Linked DNA regions of Homo sapiens: region 2 is linked to region 1. Evidence: promoter capture Hi-C in human tissues and cell types (Jung and others, 2019). All regions are on one chromosome and are shown on one strand. The core of a region is centred on a gene start or on the middle of the fragment in contact, and the rest is flanking DNA. Distances in the headings are between cores, read along the strand shown. Region 1 holds the start of CCDC116 (coiled-coil domain containing 116). Region 2 overlaps PI4KA (phosphatidylinositol 4-kinase alpha).

What was found. Contacts are between HindIII fragments. The study calls those that stand out against the background at their distance.
Region 2: a fragment that was not itself captured here is called in contact with the fragment with the promoter of CCDC116 in region 1 in 1 of the 25 tissues and cell types used here (dorsolateral prefrontal cortex).

Annotation. Positions count from the first base shown.
Region 1 is chr22:21,631,355-21,635,854 of GRCh38, reverse strand. It overlaps CCDC116 (coiled-coil domain containing 116), which reads right to left and starts at 3,095. Exons shown (of 5, transcript NM_152612.3): 1 at 3,028-3,095; 2 at 2,602-2,735; 3 at 1,285-1,833; 4 at 589-1,170. The coding sequence starts at 2,673. RefSeq lists an enhancer at 2,864-3,363. The HindIII fragment of the contact is 5,816 bases long and covers 1-3,445 here.
Region 2 is chr22:20,821,210-20,826,008 of GRCh38, reverse strand. PI4KA (phosphatidylinositol 4-kinase alpha) reads left to right here. Exons shown (of 55, transcript NM_058004.4): 4 at 1,595-1,683. Among named protein-coding and RNA genes, the nearest start is that of PI4KA, 35 kb to the left of the region's middle. The HindIII fragment of the contact is 7,070 bases long and covers 1-4,799 here.

The DNA of each region.
Region 1 (4,500 bases), core at 1,846-4,345:
CCACCCCCATGTAGGAGCGTCTCTAGATTCACATACAAACGTTAGAAAAAATACCCAGCATAAAAAATAGCCTTTATTTATCTGTGACAACACCTGGTAATAGCTAGGCCAGGATTCATGGGCCCCCATCAGCTTGACCCCTGCCCAGGAGGTTTCCACAGTGCAGGGCAAGAGACCTTGACCTTGAGCACCTGTTAGTGACAGTGGCTGCTAGGAGTGGTGGGTCAAGGAGCCCTTCTCCTGCAAACTCATGCCCGGTCCTACTTTTGAGGAGGTCACCTCTGGACACAGTGAGGCGGGAGATGAAGAGGCAACTGGAGAGAGCTCAGGGAGAAGGTAGCAGGAAGAGCGGGGGTAGGGGGAGGAAAGTGGAGGTGTGACAGGGCCCCTGAGGTGGCCCTGGCTGCAGGCCACCTCCACCACAATCCCTGGCGTGGGCAGGGTGAGGTGCAGGCCCTGCCAGGGCTGGGCCCTCTGGCTGGAGCTCAGGGAAACAGGTGGGTTTTGTAATTTGGGATCTGAGTCAGGTGCCTCCTCCCTGGAGTGGAGTGAGGGGCTGGGGACATTGGGCTTCTCCGTGGGTGTCACCTTGAGTTTGAATCTGGTGGCCACCTGGGCACTAGACATGGAGGGGGAGCCTCCTCTGTCCTTGCGTTTTCTCTGAAGCATCTTGGGGCTGGAGACTGTGGGGCGGGGGGAAGCATAGGGCTGCCCGCCATTGGTGGGTTTAGCTGGCTCAGAGCCCAGAGGCGGCAGATCTGAGGTGGGCTCCAAGCTGGTGGGGAACAGAGGACGGCCGTCGCGGCAGTGGGCGCCACGGAGCTTATCCACAGCCTGGCTGACCACGCTTTGCAGGGCAGGGAAGAGGCGGTGGTCAGCCAGGAAGTTCAGCGTGCGATGGGGCTCACGGAGCGGACAGTAGCCAGGCAGGTCGAGGGACTCCAGCTGGCTCAGTAATGACTTGATCTCCTTATTGAACTCTCGCTTGCGGAAGATTGGCTCCTGTTCTCCAGGCCTCGGCTCTGATGCTTCAGGCACGCCAGAGCTTGAGCCCAGCAGCCCTGAGAACCAGGACAAGGGCTGCTCCTGTGTCCACTGAAAGCTGGTCTGGCTACCCAGCGAATCCCACAGCAGGGAGTCCCTCTGGGAGCAGGACTGACTGAGGCCTTTCTGCAGAAAGAGGGTGACTCTGTGAAGTGTTCAGGAGCAGCCAAGCCAGGGCTGACCCTAGCCCTGGGCTCTCCATGGGAGTCCACCCCACCCAGCCATGGCCCTGGCTCTCACCCCTTCCCTCTCCAGCTGTAGCAGCCGCTTGAGGTTCTTCTCCAGCAGGAGTTTGTCCCTCACAGGTGGCAATGAGCCTTGGGCACCTAGGTCACTGTCCCGGCTGTGGGAGCCCAGACAGCCGGCCATGAGGCTGCTATGGCAGTTGGACATGGAGCTGGAGCTGGATGGGTAGTTGTTGGGGTGTCCAGTGCAGAGGGTCGGCCGTACACGGTGCCGGTGTACGGTGCTGAGGCTGGGCCGGGCATGTGCCCGCCGTCCACCACTTGGCACCTCCACTGGGTCCTGCACCTCCACAAGCGGCACCCCAGCCTCCGTCTTCATGGCAGCCATGCGCTCAGTCGCCTTCTCCACCACTGTCTCCAGGCTGTCCAGGACCTGGCTCTCAGTTAGGAAATCCAGAAAGTGGCCAAAGGGCTGAGGGTGCCTCTTGTTTCGGCGTTGGCCCTGGAGTGCTGAGCTGCCACATGTGGATGGTGGGTGTGGCACACGGCCCGGCTTGCAGGCTGGCCGCATTTCTGGGACCAGTGGCTTCTTGGGCAGCTGCACCTGAGCAGACAGGTATGTCACAGGGGGCAGGGGTGCCCTACAGGTGAAGGGTTCCCTGGGGTAACACTAGGACCTGGGTGGGAGTGAGTAGTGGAAGGAGCTGCATTTTGGAGTCTGGAAGCCCTGGGTTTGGACCCTGGCTCTGCCACCTACAGCCTGATGCCAGTGTGCAAGATGGCCCCTCTTGAGGTCCAATGTCCTCATCTGCAAAGTGGAGGTCTATTCAGGGTCACCCCGAAGCTTTCCTAACACCTACATTTCACACACACAAGTCCTGGCTAAGGAGTCTGCAAGCCTGCTTCTGCCCTGACACGTGGCAGGATGAGCAATCATGAATCTCTCGGAGTCTCCCTCCAGCTCCTCATCTGTCCATGCAGCAGGCCATCCCTGTATCCATGGCAGGGCTGCAAACAACATCTGAGGTCTTGAGTGCAGACAACACCTGAGGTCTTGAGCCCTGTGCTACCCGGGCCTGTTTCTCCAACTTGAGCCATAGGCACCTAGTCAACTCCATGCTCCCACTCTAGGGTCCCAGTCCACCCAAGCACCTTCTGGGTCGCTGGAAGTCAGGAGGAAACAAGGAATGAAATTGAGTGTGACAGGGGCAAGCAGTGGGGGACATAGGAGAAGTCAAGGCAATAAGGACTTCACTAAGAGGCCCAGAGAAGTCAATAGACAATGAGAAATGGGGGTTGTGGTCTTGGGTGCCAGGGTTGGTGGGGAACATGTTGTGGCCTCAAGGGTCGGCGCCCTGCTGGGCACACTTACCCGTGCACTGCACATGGAGTGGCTGGCCTCGTCATCGGCCAGGTAACCCGAGTGGTGGCGGCACCTGGCCATGTGGTCACCTGGCAGGTGACCGGGCCTGCTGCCCACCTCTCTCTTCAGCTGCGCATTCCTCTCTGCGTGGGGTGGGGAGACAACCTGAGGGTCTCCAATAGGTCCACGCATCTGTGGCCCTGGAGTCTGCGGGTCCCTCGCTCCCCGCACCCCGCCTCCTTCATGCATCCAGCCCTTCCTCTGCTCCATGGCCCCCATGCGTCTGCAGGCAGGCAGTTTCCAGAGTCATCGGGGTGGAATCGCTGAGGACAATCCTGTCTCCGATCATCTTTGGATCTGCGTGTGCTCGACCCGCCCTCCTCCCAAACCCTGGGCAACCTGGCTTTCACCCCAGCCCAGAATCAACAGACTCACCAGAAACACCGCCTTGCTCCGCACAGGCCAGTACAGTCTGCGCCCTCACTGGAGCAGCTGCACAGTGCGAGGAAGTCGGCTGGCGGCCTCCACTTGCTTATTTGCATACCACATCCTCATTGGTTCTTACCGAGGAGCTCGTCCACTTCCCTCTCCGACACAATGGTTGGGGGCGGGGCCCACATTGGCCCCACCTCCAATTCTCTGGGCTCTGCCCTCCCACACTCGCCTGGGAGCCGCAGGCTGAGGATGCTGGTGCCCACGCTCCCCGCTGCCGGGAGGACCCCCCACCCACCACCGAAGCTGGGGCTAGGCTCTTTGATCTGCTCCTGCCCCGAGGGGAGCCTAAAAGCCAAAGCCACGTCTTCCACCGGTGGCACAAGCACCTTCCTCGTGTCCTCCTTGGTTGCTGCGCAGCCCTGGGCCTCCTGCTCCTGTTCGTTTCCAGGGGCCTCTGCCCTTCCCGCGGTGTGCACAGCCCCAGGTTCTGCCTTGAGACCTCTCCCCTCTGCAGTGGAAAGAGTGCCGGCTCTAAGTCACAGACCTAGCTTCAGTTCCTGGCTCTGCTCTTTCCTGCCAATGTGACTCAACCTCTCAGCATTAGTCCCACACTGTAAATGGGCTTGAGTGTTCTTCCAATATGGGAGTATGGGATTCAATAAAATCTCCCTACAGCACACCCAGTAACCCAGTGGAGCCTTGTGTATTCTTTAATTAATTAATTTATTTATTTGGAGACGGGAGTCTCGCTCAGTCGCCCAGGCTGGAGTGCAGTGGCGCAATCTCGGCTGACTGCAAGCTCCGCCTCCCGTGTTCACGCCATTCTCCTGCCTCAGCCTCCCGAGCAGCTGGGATTACAGGGGCCCGCCACCACGCCCGGCTAATTTTTTTGTAGTTTTAGTAGAGATGGGGTTTCACCGTGTTAGCTAGGATGGTCTCGATTCCCTGATCTTGTGATCCGCCTGCCTTGGCCTCCCAAAGTGCTGGGATTACAGACCTGAGCCACCGCGCCCAGCGGAGCCTTGTATATTCTTACCTCCTCTCCCTCCCTCCTTTTCCCCTTTGCTCAGTAATACCCCACCATGGTGTCACTTCTTCCAAAAACCTTTTACTGTGAATTCTGCCACGCCCTACGCAATTCACAGTAAACCCCATTCCAGACTCTACCATACCATGTTGCTACTTATTTTTCTATCAGATGGTGCTTCTTTGGGGCCAGAACAGAGGCAAGTCACCCTTAATCTCTAATACTTTCAGTGTCTGGCACCAAGTAGGTGCTCAATAAATGTCAGTCTCCTCCTTCCCACCTGCAGACCCTCGGGACCTCTGACCTTTCCAAGATCAGCTTCCAGTGGAGAACGGTGGTTGGTTGAGGTCTGACAATTCACCAGTCACTATAAACACATCAGTCCTTATGCCAAGAGCATGGCTGAAGGACTCTATGAGGCTTTCAATCCTCACATGCCTCACGAA
Region 2 (4,799 bases), core at 870-3,369, 810 kb after region 1:
GAATTAGCACAGCAACAGGAAACCAAACGCTGCATGTTCTCACTTGTAAGTGGGAGCTAAACTTCGAGTACATATGAACACAGAAGGGAACAGCAGACACTGGGGCCTACTTAAGAGTGGAGAATAGGAGGAAGGTGAGGATGGGAAAACTACTTTCTGGGTACTATGCTTATTACGGGGATGATGAAATAATCTGTACACCAAACCCCCGTAACATGCAGTTTACCTGTATAACAAAACTGCGTATGTACCCCTGAACCTGAAATAAAAATTAAAAAACATTCTGTTTGTGCCAGTATTCCTCTTAACCTTTGGGTTTTCATCATTTCTGGTAACATGCCTAAAACTGACAGATCCCAAATTATGCATGTACCTGCAATTTGTTAGGATTTTGTTTGTTTTTTGTTTTTTTGAGACAGTCTCACTCTGTCTGCACTCCAAGCTGTAGTGCAGTGGCCTGACCTCGGTTCACTGCAACCTCCACCTCCTGGGTTCAAGCAATTCTCGTGCCTCAGCCTCCCAAGTACCTGGGATTACAGGCATGCATCACCATGCCTGGCTAATTTTTGTATTTTCGGTAGAGATAGTATTTTGCCATGTTGGCTGGGCTGGTCTTGAACTCCTGGCCTCAAGTGATCTGCCTGCTTTGGCCTCCTAAAGTGCTAGGACTATAGGCATGAGCCACTGCACCCAGTCTGTCCTGCAATTTGATGGACTACAAATTAAATAGAGCATCATTACTAAAAGGTCAAATTTTAGGCCGGGCATGGGCACATTCAAGTTTGAGAACAGCCTAGAGCTGCACTTTAAAATTTTAAGTGCTGGAGTAGAAATGTAAGTCTTCTGTCATGTACTATGAATATAGCTATTAAATAGTGGATACTCTTTTTTCCTTGATTCAACATTCAATATTCAAAATTGATTTTTTTTTTTTTTTTTGAGATGGCGTCTCATTCTGTCACCCAGGCTGGAGTACAGTGGTGCGATCTCGGCTCACTGGAACCTCCACTTCCTGGCTTCGAGCTATTCTCCTGTCTCAGCCTCCCAAGTGGCTGGGATTACAGGTGTGCGCCACCACACCCAGCTAATTTTTGTATTTTTAGTAGAGACGGGGTTTCACCATGTTGGCCAGGCTGGTCTTGAACTCGACCTCAGGTGATCCGTCTGCCTTGGCCCCCCAAAAGTGCTGGGATTACAGACTTGAGCCACTTCGCCCAGCCGAGTGTTTTGTGTGTGTGTGTGTGTGTGTGTGTGTGTGTGTGTGTGTGTGTGTGTGATTTATCACATTTACTTAGGGAATAAAAAATTGAATCTGTCATGTTGAGAGGCTTTGTTATCTCACACTAGCTATTGGCTCAGGAAACATTTAAGTTTATTGAACCAAAACATTTACTTAAAGGAAAGGTAAGGGTGTTTCTCAGCAAACTCATTGGGCCCATAGCTGTTCTTTTGAGACTCGTCTCAAGGAGGGCAGCTGCTGTAAACTGGTCCCTTGGCAGGTCATGGTGAGAGGGAACATATTGAATTGGATGGCCAGAGGTGTGACCCAGTATCTGGTTCCTGGTTATCTGATTTATGTTTTTACATCTTCCAGGTGCCCTCCCGGTTGCAGAGAGCTTCAGCTTCTGCTTGGTAACTCTGCTGTCTGATGTGGCCTATAGGGATCCTTCACTTAGGGATGAGGTAAGCATGTGTTGGTTGATTTGGTATGCATTTCTATTAGATTGAATAGAGTCCCAAAGTGATGAAAAGATTTTAAAAACGTGAAATGTGATTGAATTGTTTGTTGATATTTATCTATTTCATCCTGTTGACAGCAGACCTAAGACATGCTTAGGTCTTTCACTACTCTTTAGGATCTCGAGTCTTATCTTATTAAACTTTTCTTTTTTTTTTTTTCTTTTTTCTAATGAAGGGCAGGGGCTGCAGAGACATGAGCAGCACTATCCCTTTCAGCTTTTCAGAAAGTCCTTTAAGGTAGGCGGCAGAAAAAGGCAGAGGCAGCTCATTTTTCTTGCTCTTTGTTGGGGATTGAAGTCATTCATAGAAGATCATTTTCTTTTCTTTTTTTGAGGCAGTCTTGCTCTGTCATCCAGGCTGGAGTGCAGTGGTGCAATCTTGGCTCACTGCAACCTCTGCCGTCCACCTCAAGCCAGCCTCCCTCCTAAGACTCCCAAGTAGCTGAGACTATAGGCGTGCACCATCATGCCAGCTAATTTGTTTTGTATTTTTTGTAGAGACAAGGTTTCGCCATGTTGCCCAGGCTGGTCTTGAACTCCGGGCCTCAAGTGATCCTTCTGCCTCGACCTCCCAGAGTGCTGGGATTATAGGTGTGAGCCACTGTGCCCAGCTAGAAGAGAATCTTCTAGGTAGCTGAAGCTTTTATCTTTAAGGGCACAGACTTTCTTTAGATTTTGTTAATTTTGATAGAAATGTTACAAACATGTATTTCATACTTTCCTGTTCTTTAAACAAAGAATGTAATCATACAACTTTTTCTTAAATTTATCGCTTAGAAAGTTAGTTTTTGTATGCTGCTGTTCCTAGGTTCTTCCAAACAGTGCCTAGTTGCTTGTCTGCATTCTAAATGTTCCCAGTTAGTGATGTATTTTGACTAATTTAGATTCTTCATTTATTTGTAGGTTGGCTAAAGAAATACTTAAATATGTTAGAATAATGTGTTTTTATTAAAAAGTTGGACATTAAGGGCTTTTTTCTATGAATAAAATTTATCAGAATAAAGAGGTCAACACCAAAGGTGATAACATGACTTTAACATATAAAATGGAAAAAGTGGCTGGGTGCGGTGGCTCAGGCTTGTAATCCTAGCACTTTGGGATGCTGAGGCGGGTGGATCACCTGAGGTCAGGAGTTTGAGACCAGCCTGGCCAACATGAAGAAACCCCATCTCTACTAAAAATATAAAAATTAGCCGGGCGTGGTGGCAGGAGCCTGTAATCCTAGCTACTCGGGAGGCTGAGGCATGAGAATCACTTGAACCTGGGAGGCAGAGGTTGCAGTGAGCTGAGATCATGCCATTGCACTCCAGCCTGGATAACAGAGTGAGACTCGGTCTCAAAATAAATAAATAAAATGGAAAAACTATTGCTTTTCAAGCTTTTGTAGATTATTCAGCATTACTTAATATTAGGAAAATGTAAGAGATTTGACTTGGTTATGAACAAGTCATGTCACACCAACTTCATTTTTTCTTTGCCTGGGTTTTCTAAGAAGAATGGTTGAGAGAAATGAAGTTGCTGCATTCTAGTGGATCTTCATAAATGCTTTGGACAAGCACCTTTCCTGACATCCTGGACCAGTTATATGGGCTGAGGGCCAAATGGTTTGGAGGGTTTGCAGAACTGCCTGAAGGACTGTCCCAAAGGGTGATCAGTGAGGTATCGGCCTAGCAGGACCCTCCTGTCATTGGAGCAAAACAAGCTAGTGCTGTGAATGAAGATCTGGAAAGCAAGTTGATTTCATTTGGAGAAGGCACAAAGCTGGGAATCACAGATTTGTACAGTGAGCTAAAGCTAATACCATGAGTTTTTGTAGGGGTAGATGAAAGATAAAAAATACCAACTACGTTAGTAGAGATTACATAGTTCAGGAGAAGCAGGTGCGAAAGAAGACTTAGGTATCTTCCTCATCTATAAGCTTATTGTCATGGATGGTGGCTCACGCCTGTAATCCCAACATTCTGGGAGGCTGAGGCAGGAGGATCACTTGAGCCCGGGAATTTGAGACTAGCTTGGGCAGCATAGCAAAACCTATCCCTACAAAAATAAAAATAAAAATTAGCTGGGCATAGTGACACATGCCTGTAATCCCAGCTACTTAGGAGGCTGAGGCAGGAGGATTGCTTGAGTCCAGGAGTTTGAGGCTACAGTGAGCTATCATTGAACCCCTGCACTGTTCTTGGCTCACTATATCCTCGGCCTCCTGGGCTCAAGTGACCCTCACACGTCAGCCTCCTGACCACAGGCACGCACCACCACACCTGGCTAATTTTTGTATGTTTTGTAGAGACAGGGTTTTGCTACTTTGCCCAGGCAGGTCTGAACTCCTGAGCTCAACTGATCCACCCGCTTCAGCCTCCCAAAGTGCTGGGATTGGCTGGGCACAGTGGCTCATGCCTATAATCCCAGTACCTTGGGAGGCCGAGGTGGGTGGATCGATCACCTGAGGTTGGGAGTTTGAGACCAGACTAACCAACATGGAGAAACCCCGTCTCTACTAAAAATAAAAAATTAGCCAGGCGTGGTGGTGCATGCCTGCAATCCCAGCTGCTAAGGAGGCTGAGGCAGGAGAATCGCTTGAACCCAGGAGGCGGAGGTTGTGGTGAGCCGAGACATGCCATTGCACTGCAGCCTGGGCAACAAGAGTGAAACCGCGCCTCAAAACAAACAAACAAACAAAAGTGCTGGGATTATAGGCATAAGCCACCCTTCCAGGAACAAAAAAAAATTTCTTAACTTAAATAATTATGGACTGGGCGCAGTGGCTCACGCCTATAATCTCAGCACTTTGCGAGGCCAAGGCAGGTGGATCACCTGAGGTCAGGAGTTCGAGACCAGCCCGGCTAACATGGTGAAACCCTGTCTGTACTAAAAATACAAAAAATTAGCCAGGCATGGTGGCATGCACCTGTAATCTTAGCTACTCAGGAGACTGAGTCAGGAGAATCGCTTGAACCTGGGAGGTGGAGGTTGCAGTAAGCCAAGATCATGCCACTGCACTCCAGCCTGGGCAACAAGAGCGAAACTTCGTCTCAAACAAATAAAAAAAATTTAAAAATT